Linked DNA regions of Homo sapiens: region 1 is linked to region 2. The links are contacts of gene promoters, found by promoter capture Hi-C in human tissues and cell types (Jung and others, 2019). All regions are on one chromosome and are shown on one strand. The core of a region is centred on a gene start or on the middle of the fragment in contact, and the rest is flanking DNA. Distances in the headings are between cores, read along the strand shown. Region 1 overlaps RFX2 (regulatory factor X2). Region 2 holds the start of MLLT1 (MLLT1 super elongation complex subunit).

Region 1 (3,646 bases), core at 458-2,957, 200 kb after region 2:
AAATTTTTATGACTTAAACTAATGCCACTGGGGACAGGTCGTCAATATACCTTTTTTTTTTTTTTTTTTACAGCTGTGCTGAGATCTGTTTTACATACCGTAAAGCTCACCCATTTGAAGTGTATGGTTCAGTGGGTCTTAGTATACTATCTTCACAGAACATTTTCATCACTCCGAAAAGAAGAAGAAACCCTGAACCTGCCATGAACAGCCACTTGCCCTTCCTCCTCCCAGCCCCGGGCAACTGTGAATCCACTTTCTGTCTCTGTGGATTTGCCTGTTTTGAACCTTTCATATAAACAGAATCACACACTATGTGGCCTTTTGTGACTGGCTTCTTCCACGTAACATAATGTTTTCAGGGTCCACTGTCCATCCGTTTACAGCATGTGCCAGTGCCTCGTTCCTTTTTTTTTTTTTTTTTTTTGAGATGGAATTTTGCTCTTGTTGCCCAGGCTGGAGTGCAATGGCGCGATCTTGGCTCACTGCAACCTCCGCCTCCCGGGTTCAAGCGATTCTCCTGCCTCAGCCTCCCAAGTAGCTGGGATTACAGGCATGTGCCACCACGCCCGGCTAATTTTGTATTTTAATAGAGACAGGGTTTCTCCATGTTGGTCAGGCTGGTCTCAAACTCCTGACCTCAGGTGATCCACCCGCCTCAGCCTCCCAAAGTGCTGGGATTACAGGTGTGAGCCACCGCGCCCGGCCGCCTTCGTTTATCCATCCATCAGTTGACAAACATTTGGGCTGTTGCTACTTTGGGGCCATTAGGACAACGCTGCTGTGAACATTGGTATCCAAGCATTTGTGTGGCCATGCACTGTTTAGCACATGTCTACTTCTGCAGGATGAATTTTGAGGAGGGGAAAAAGACCCCACTTATAGCTAGCTCTTTGTCTCTGACTGTGTAGGTTTGAACATCTCGTAAGTCTTGAGAAATGCTTGGAGGCCATTTCCTGCAGAGGCACACGCCCCTCTTGGGTGGGCTGGGGGAGGCAGTGGCAGAGCCCAGCCCACCTGCCCCAGCCACCAGTGCTCCCGGGTTTTGCATTCAGCCCCTGGCACACACTCATGGCTAACCCTGGTGCCCTTGCCTGTCTTTGACCCAGCACTGGCGAAGGAATTGGCAAAGCCACCAGGTTAATGATGCAAGCCCCAGAAACTTGCGGCATAGATGAGAAGGCAAATGGCCTCTCCTTTTGGAGAACTAAAGAGATTTAAGGAAGCTTGCTGGCTCACTCCCTCTCACCGGCAAGGATGGCACTAAACACAGTCCGCATCAATCACTGTTTTTGTTATGCGATTTATGAGTTGCTCAGCCGAGAATAAGGTTGCACGTGGTAGGAGGAGTTCTGTGTGTACCGAGGTCTCATGGAAGGACTGGATTTCTAGGGAAGAAAAGGGAAAAGGGAGTTGATGTTAAAATATCATTTCTATAACAGTAATGCAGTAGTGTTCATCTAGAAGGAGAGCTGCCACATTTGGCAAGATGCTGGGAGAGAAACAAGTATTAAGTACTTGGTTAAAATGACAAACCCCACAAATATGCCCTGGAATGAATATAGCTCATAGCAGGAGGCACTCCCTAAAGGGCTTAGCAACATCACAAATAGCGAAGAGTTTTTGAAATCACAAATAGCAAACAGCATAACTGCTTTTAGTTTCAGATATTTAAATCTGCAAAAAATCAGTAAATTATGTGGGTTACGTTATAATGGTGTGAATTACAACGATGACGCTAATGAACATTTATGGGCATTTTCCGTGTGCTGGGCTGGCCATTAAACTCCACACTTTGTAGGACTCCTCTCATTTAACACAACCACCCAACACAGATAGAAGTATTTTCTCCGTTTATGGACAAAGAAATGGAAGTGCAGAAAGATTTAAGTCCCTGGCTGAGGTCACCCAGCTAGAAACTGGAGGACCCAGGAACTGGACCCAGGCACCGGACCCAGGCACCCTCGCCTAGCCTCCTGTTTTAGAGCTAGGATGCACCGTAAGGTAGTTAATGGTATTCCAGTTGATGAACGTTTGTTTCTTATTTATGTATTTATTTATTTTGAGACAGAGTCTCTCTCTGTCACCCAGGCTGGAGTACAGTGGCACCATCTCGGCTCACTGCAACCTCAGCCTCCCGGGTTCAGGCGATTCTCCTGCCTCAGCCTCCCAAGTAGCTGGGATTACAGGCATGCACCACCACGCATGGCTAATTTTTGTATTATTTTTTAGTAGAGATGGGGTTTCGCCATGTTGGCCAGGCTGCTCTCGAACTCATGACCTCAAGTGATCTGCCCACCTTGGCCTCCCAAAATGTGCTGGGATTACAGGCATGAGCCACCGCCCCCAACCTCGTTTCTAATTTTTTGTGAACACCAAGCTCCGAAAGCCAAGTAAAGGGGTGACGCTGTGTATTTCAGAGCTCGATATTCCCTCTGCTTTCTTCCTCTCCTCTGTCCCCTATGCCAGATCCTCCAACTGTTCATGACCTTTGAACTTGAGAAGGGACCTCTTTTCTGCTTTATCTACACCTGCTTTCCTGGTGATCTCACCGAGGTACAAGAGTTGAAATGCATCTTAGAACCTCCAGTGTCCTAGTGTCTGCAGCCTGGCTCACTCCCCGAATCCTGGACTTGTGTACCTAGCTGCCTAGGTGGCAGCTGCATGTGGGTGTCATCTGATGGGCATCTGAGGCTTCTGTCACCCAAAACTGGGTGCCTGATTCGACCTCACACTTGTCTCTCCCCAGACCACGGGCTTCCCCAGCTCAGCACCGGGCAGCTCCATTCTCTAGGTGCTCAGGCCAGCCCCAAGCCTTAAGTCAGCCTCGACTCCTCTCTTTCTTTCACCCTTTATGTCAAACCCGTCAGCAAACCTGGCTGGCTCTGTCTTCAGGTGTCTCCCAAATGAGAGCACTGCTATCACGTAAGTCTTTGTCACCTCTGACCTGGTTGTCCAGCCCTGACGTTTGCTTCCATTGACCGTTGATACTTCCAAAATATCTGTCAGATTGTGTCCCTGTGCCCTAAACCTTCCAGTAGCTTCCCAGCACACTCAGAGCGAAAGCCAAACACTCCACTGTGGCCTCCTTGTGTCTCTAAGTCCATCTTCTCCTCCTCCTCCTCCTCCTCCTCCACCTTCTCCTCCTCTTCTTTCTCCTCTTCCTCCTTCTCCTCCTGTCTTAATCTGTTTGGGCTGTTTCAGCAAAAGGCCATAGACTGGGTGGCTGTAAACAACAGACACACATCTCTCAGCCCTGGAGGTGGGAAGTCTGAGAAGAGGGTGCCAGCAGGGTCAGGTTCTGGTGAGGGCTTCCCTCTGGGATGCAGATGGCTGTCTTCTTGCTGTGTCCTCACATCACATGGTGGGAAGCCAGAGAGAGCTCTCTGGGGTCCCTTCCATAAGGGAGGGCATGATCCCACCCTCATGACCTAATCACCTCCCAAAGGCCCCACCTCCTAAAGCTACTGCCTTGGGGTGAGGAGTTCAGCATAGGAATTTAAGGGGACACAACATTCAACCCCCAGCATTCCCCCAGCTCCCTCTGGTGGCCTCCTCACGTGACCCGTGTGACCCCACATGTCCCGTGTGCCTCAGCCTTGCCGAGCACCATCCCTGGCAGAGCCTTCTCAGCGGCGACACTTTC
Region 2 (3,872 bases), core at 238-2,737:
ATATATGTATGGGGTACACCTTGATGCTTTGGTACATGTATACATTATGGAATAAACAAATCAGGCTAATTGACATATCCATCACCACATATACTTATCAATTATTTATGGTGAGAACATTCAAAATCCACTTTTAGCATTTTTTTTCTTTTTTTTCTCTTTTTTGAGACAGAGTCTTGCTCTGTCACTCAGGCTGGAGTGCAGTGGCATGATCTCATCTCACTGCAACCTCTGCCTCCCTGGTTCAGGCGATTCTCCTGCCTCAGCCTCCTGAGTAGCTAGAATTACAGGCACACACCACCACGCCCGGCTAATTTTTGTATTTTTTTAGTAGAGATGGGATTTCACCATGTTGGCCAGGCTGGTCTTGAACTTCTGACCTCAGGTGATCCGCCCCCCTCAGCCTCCCAAAGTGTTGGGATTACAGGCGTGAGCCACCGCATCTGGCCGCTTTTAGCAATTTTAAAATATAAAATTACATTATTATGTAGTCACCTTGCTGTGTGATGGATCGCCAGAACTTATTCTTCGTGTCTAACTGAAAACATGTGACTCTCTTGGGTCATTTGAATGTAGCACGATTTCAAATTTGTATCATTCAAATTAGCATGAAGAATCACACAGTACTGTTCTTCAACCTATTTCACAGATGCACAAACTGAGACTCAGGGAAAGGTGAAGAAGGGGCTGACCAGGTTTGCCAAGGATTATGCAAGATTAGAAAATTAATCTCCACTTTGGGAGGTTGAGGCAGGCGGATCACTTGAGGTCAGGAGTTCGAGACCAGCCTGGCCAACATGGCAAAACCCCGTCTCTACTAAAAATACAAAAATTAGCTGGGCATAATGGCGAGCTCCTGTAATCCCAGCTACTCGGGAGGCTGAGGCAGTAGAATCTCTTGAACCTGGGAGGTGGAGGTTGCAGTGAGCTGAGATCGTGCTAGTACACTCTAGCCTAGGCCACAGAGCGAGACGTGTCTCATAAAAAAAAAAAAGAAAAGAAAATTAATCTCCAGTTCCAGAGCCCAGGGCTCGTTCCATTACATAGCAGCATCATGAGGTCAGGAAACAAAAGTGTCCCTACCGGGGGGGCTGGGGGATCCCTCCACAGGGCTCGAACCCGTAACCTCAGTTCCAGCCCCCGGGACGCTCCCGCCCTGGAGGCTCCAGCCACGAGGCAGCGCCCCCTGCGGGCCGCAGCGCGCAGGCGCCGCGCGCCCGTCCCGCCCCCGCCCCCCTCCACGTGCGGCGCACACCTCGCGCTCCCCTCCGCCAGGCTCGCCTCGCGCCTCCCTCCCTCCCTCCTCCCGCCCCTCCGGTCCCGGCCTCCCATTGGCTGCGGGCTTCGTCCCTCCGGCCGCAGCCCGGCAGGCCCCCGCCAGGCAGGAAGTCCCGCGCCACAAGCGGCCGTCCGCGCCGTCGATTGGCCCAGGTGGCTGTCAGTCGATGCGGCGGGCCCTAGTCGGCGGCGGGGGCCCGTGATCGGTGCGCGACCCGGGCTGGCGGTGGTTTCCGGTTCCGCGGGGCTGGCGGGCGAGCGGGCGGCCGGGATCGGCGGCGGCGGCGGCGGCGGCGGCGCTTGACAGACAATGAGGGCGGCGGGGCGGCGTTGAGCGGCGGCGGCGGCGGCGGCGGCGGCGAGCGACGCGGGGCCCGGGGGCGGGGCGGGGCGCCAGCCATGGACAATCAGGTGAGGAGCGGCCGCGCCGCCCCTGCGCAGCCCGCCCGGCCCCCTCCCGCCCGCCGGCCCGCCCGGCCCTCCCCGGTCCCGGCCTCCCCGCTCCGCGCCCGCCCGCCCGCTTTGTGCGCGCCCGCCGCTCCTCGGGCCTTTATGTGGGGCGGGGGCGCCCCTCCCCCATCCGCGACCCCGGCCAGGGCGCCTCGGACACCCTTCGGGACCCGGGCCGGGCCCGGAGCCCCTTGGGACGCCCCTGGTGACCCCCCAGCCTGGCTCGGAGACCCCCGGGAGACCCCTCGGAACGCCAGTCCGACCTGCATCCACCTGGGACGCCCCTGGGGACCCCAGCCCGGCTTAGGGACCTCAAGACAGCTCTCGGGACTTCAGCCTGGCCCAGAGCTCCTTCCAGGCACTTCCTGGGATCTGGGCCCTGTTCAGACCCCTCCCGGGGCCCCTCGGATCTGCCCAGTAGACCTTTCCGTCTCTAGGTCCAGGGCCAGTCACTGTCTCCTTTCCTGTCTGGACCCTTGTCCCCGAGTCGCCTCAAACTCCCAGAGTCCCCAACCTGCTGTCTGTCTTCCCTTCAACCTCAGCTCAGATATGAGGCGTCCCCGGCCCCCTGGGACCCTGCTCTGCGGCGTCTCTCTTCCTTGAACCCCGGCCCAGCCTAAGCTTTATCTCCACCCATCCCCTACCTGGACCTGAGCCTTCTCTCCCGTCTGATCCTGCCCCGGCTGCAGCCAGGGCATCCCTTTCTCTCCCAACCCCAGCCCTGGCCTGAGCTCCTCTGACTCCCTAGGACCCTGGCCTTCGGTCTTCTGCTGCAGGGACTCAGGCCTGTTTGGAGTGTCCCCTCTCTTTGTACTTGCTTTTTCAGACTTCTTTCTTTGACCCACCCTGCCGCCTCAGCCCCCTTCTAGTTTCAGGCCCTGGTCACTCTCCCTCGGACCCGGCGGGGCTGTCTCTTTCACCTTCAGACCCTCTGCTCTGAGACCAGGACCAGGAGCAGTTTCTTCTCTGACCTGGATTCCCCAGACCTTTGAGTCACTGATGGCCTGCTGTTCCCCTCAGCTTGGGCCCTCTCCGCCCCTGGGATCCTGATTTAGGCTTCCCCACACTTGACCCCAGTCCAGATCTCCCTCCCAGGCTGGTTGGTCACGTCACAGTCCTGCAGTCTCCTGTACAACCTTTGCCTTCAGGATCTCCCACTTCATCTAACGCCCATCAGCCTGATGAGTCCTGATGTCTCTTTCAGCCACTACCCTCTCCCTCCTTCCACCTCATTTTCTGTTTTTTTCCCCCAGGATCTTAGAGCCTCAGTTGAAACCCAGGGTGGGTGGGTGGGTTCCCCAACCTCCCTAAACGCTCTGGACGGCCCCTCCCCATTGGTCTGTGTTGGTTCTCATAAACACGAGGCCTTCCTGCACCCTGGCACCCCCTTTACCCAACTCTGCGCTGCCTCTTCTCCAATACCCAAGCCCCTACCCCTCTTCCTCAAGCCCAGAAGCATTGCTGGCCCCCAACATGGGATCATTTCTTCCTCCTCCTCTGCTGCCCTGGCTTTCAGGGGCACCAGGCCAGGAAAGGTGTTGTGGGGCTGTGGGGGTGGCAGCCAAAATCTCCGCCGTTAGAGAGGGCAGGTTGGGGCGTCCCTGGCTGCTGGCGCCACTGAAGTGGCACTGTCTGTGTGGTTTCATGGGTGGGGGGCAAGAATCCTCCCTCCTGCCCATCTCGGCGCCTGTGGCACAGGGTCATGGAGACAGGTGTCTCATGCTTCTGGCACCCAGTTCCCATGGCTTCCCATCTGGTTTGGGTGTTGCTGCCTTCTTCTTAAGAGGTAAGGAAGAGTTTGCAGCAGTTGATTGGTGGATTTCCACGGCGTGGTGTGAGTTGATTTCCGTTGAAGGGACAGAGCTTGTTGCTTCCAATCTGTATTGAGTTAAAAACCCAAATGAAATATACCTTTAGTGTCCACTTTCAATGAAGCCCACCTCCAGGCAAGTCCCGCTGGGCACACAGAGGCATAGGGTATGGCCCCTTTCCTCCTTCCTTAGTCCCTGGGGGAGATGTCCTAGGCCGAAGCGTGTCTGTTCCCCTTGTGATGTGTGGAACCCTGGAGGTCTGGGTGGCTGTCACTTATGTAAGTGGGATGGTGGAAATGGGTGGCATTCCTGGTCTGCGACAGAGGGAGATAA

What was found. Contacts are between HindIII fragments. The study calls those that stand out against the background at their distance.
Region 1: a contact is called between a fragment that was not itself captured here and the fragment with the promoter of MLLT1 in region 2, in 1 of the 25 tissues and cell types used here (IMR-90 fibroblasts).

What each region holds. Positions count from the first base shown.
Region 1 is chr19:6,074,762-6,078,407 of GRCh38, reverse strand. All of the region lies in intron 1 of RFX2 (regulatory factor X2), which reads left to right. It overlaps RFX2-AS1 (RFX2 antisense RNA 1), which reads right to left. Exons shown (of 2, transcript NR_199041.1): 2 at 1,284-1,388. Among named protein-coding and RNA genes, the nearest start is that of RFX2-AS1, 14 kb to the right of the region's middle. RefSeq lists an enhancer at 3,248-3,646. The HindIII fragment of the contact is 7,886 bases long and covers 1-3,646 here.
Region 2 is chr19:6,277,590-6,281,461 of GRCh38, reverse strand. It overlaps MLLT1 (MLLT1 super elongation complex subunit), which reads left to right and starts at 1,487. Exons shown (of 12, transcript NM_005934.4): 1 at 1,487-1,689. The coding sequence starts at 1,678. RefSeq lists a silencer at 1,090-1,519 and an enhancer at 2,320-2,399. The HindIII fragment of the contact is 7,192 bases long and covers 1-3,280 here.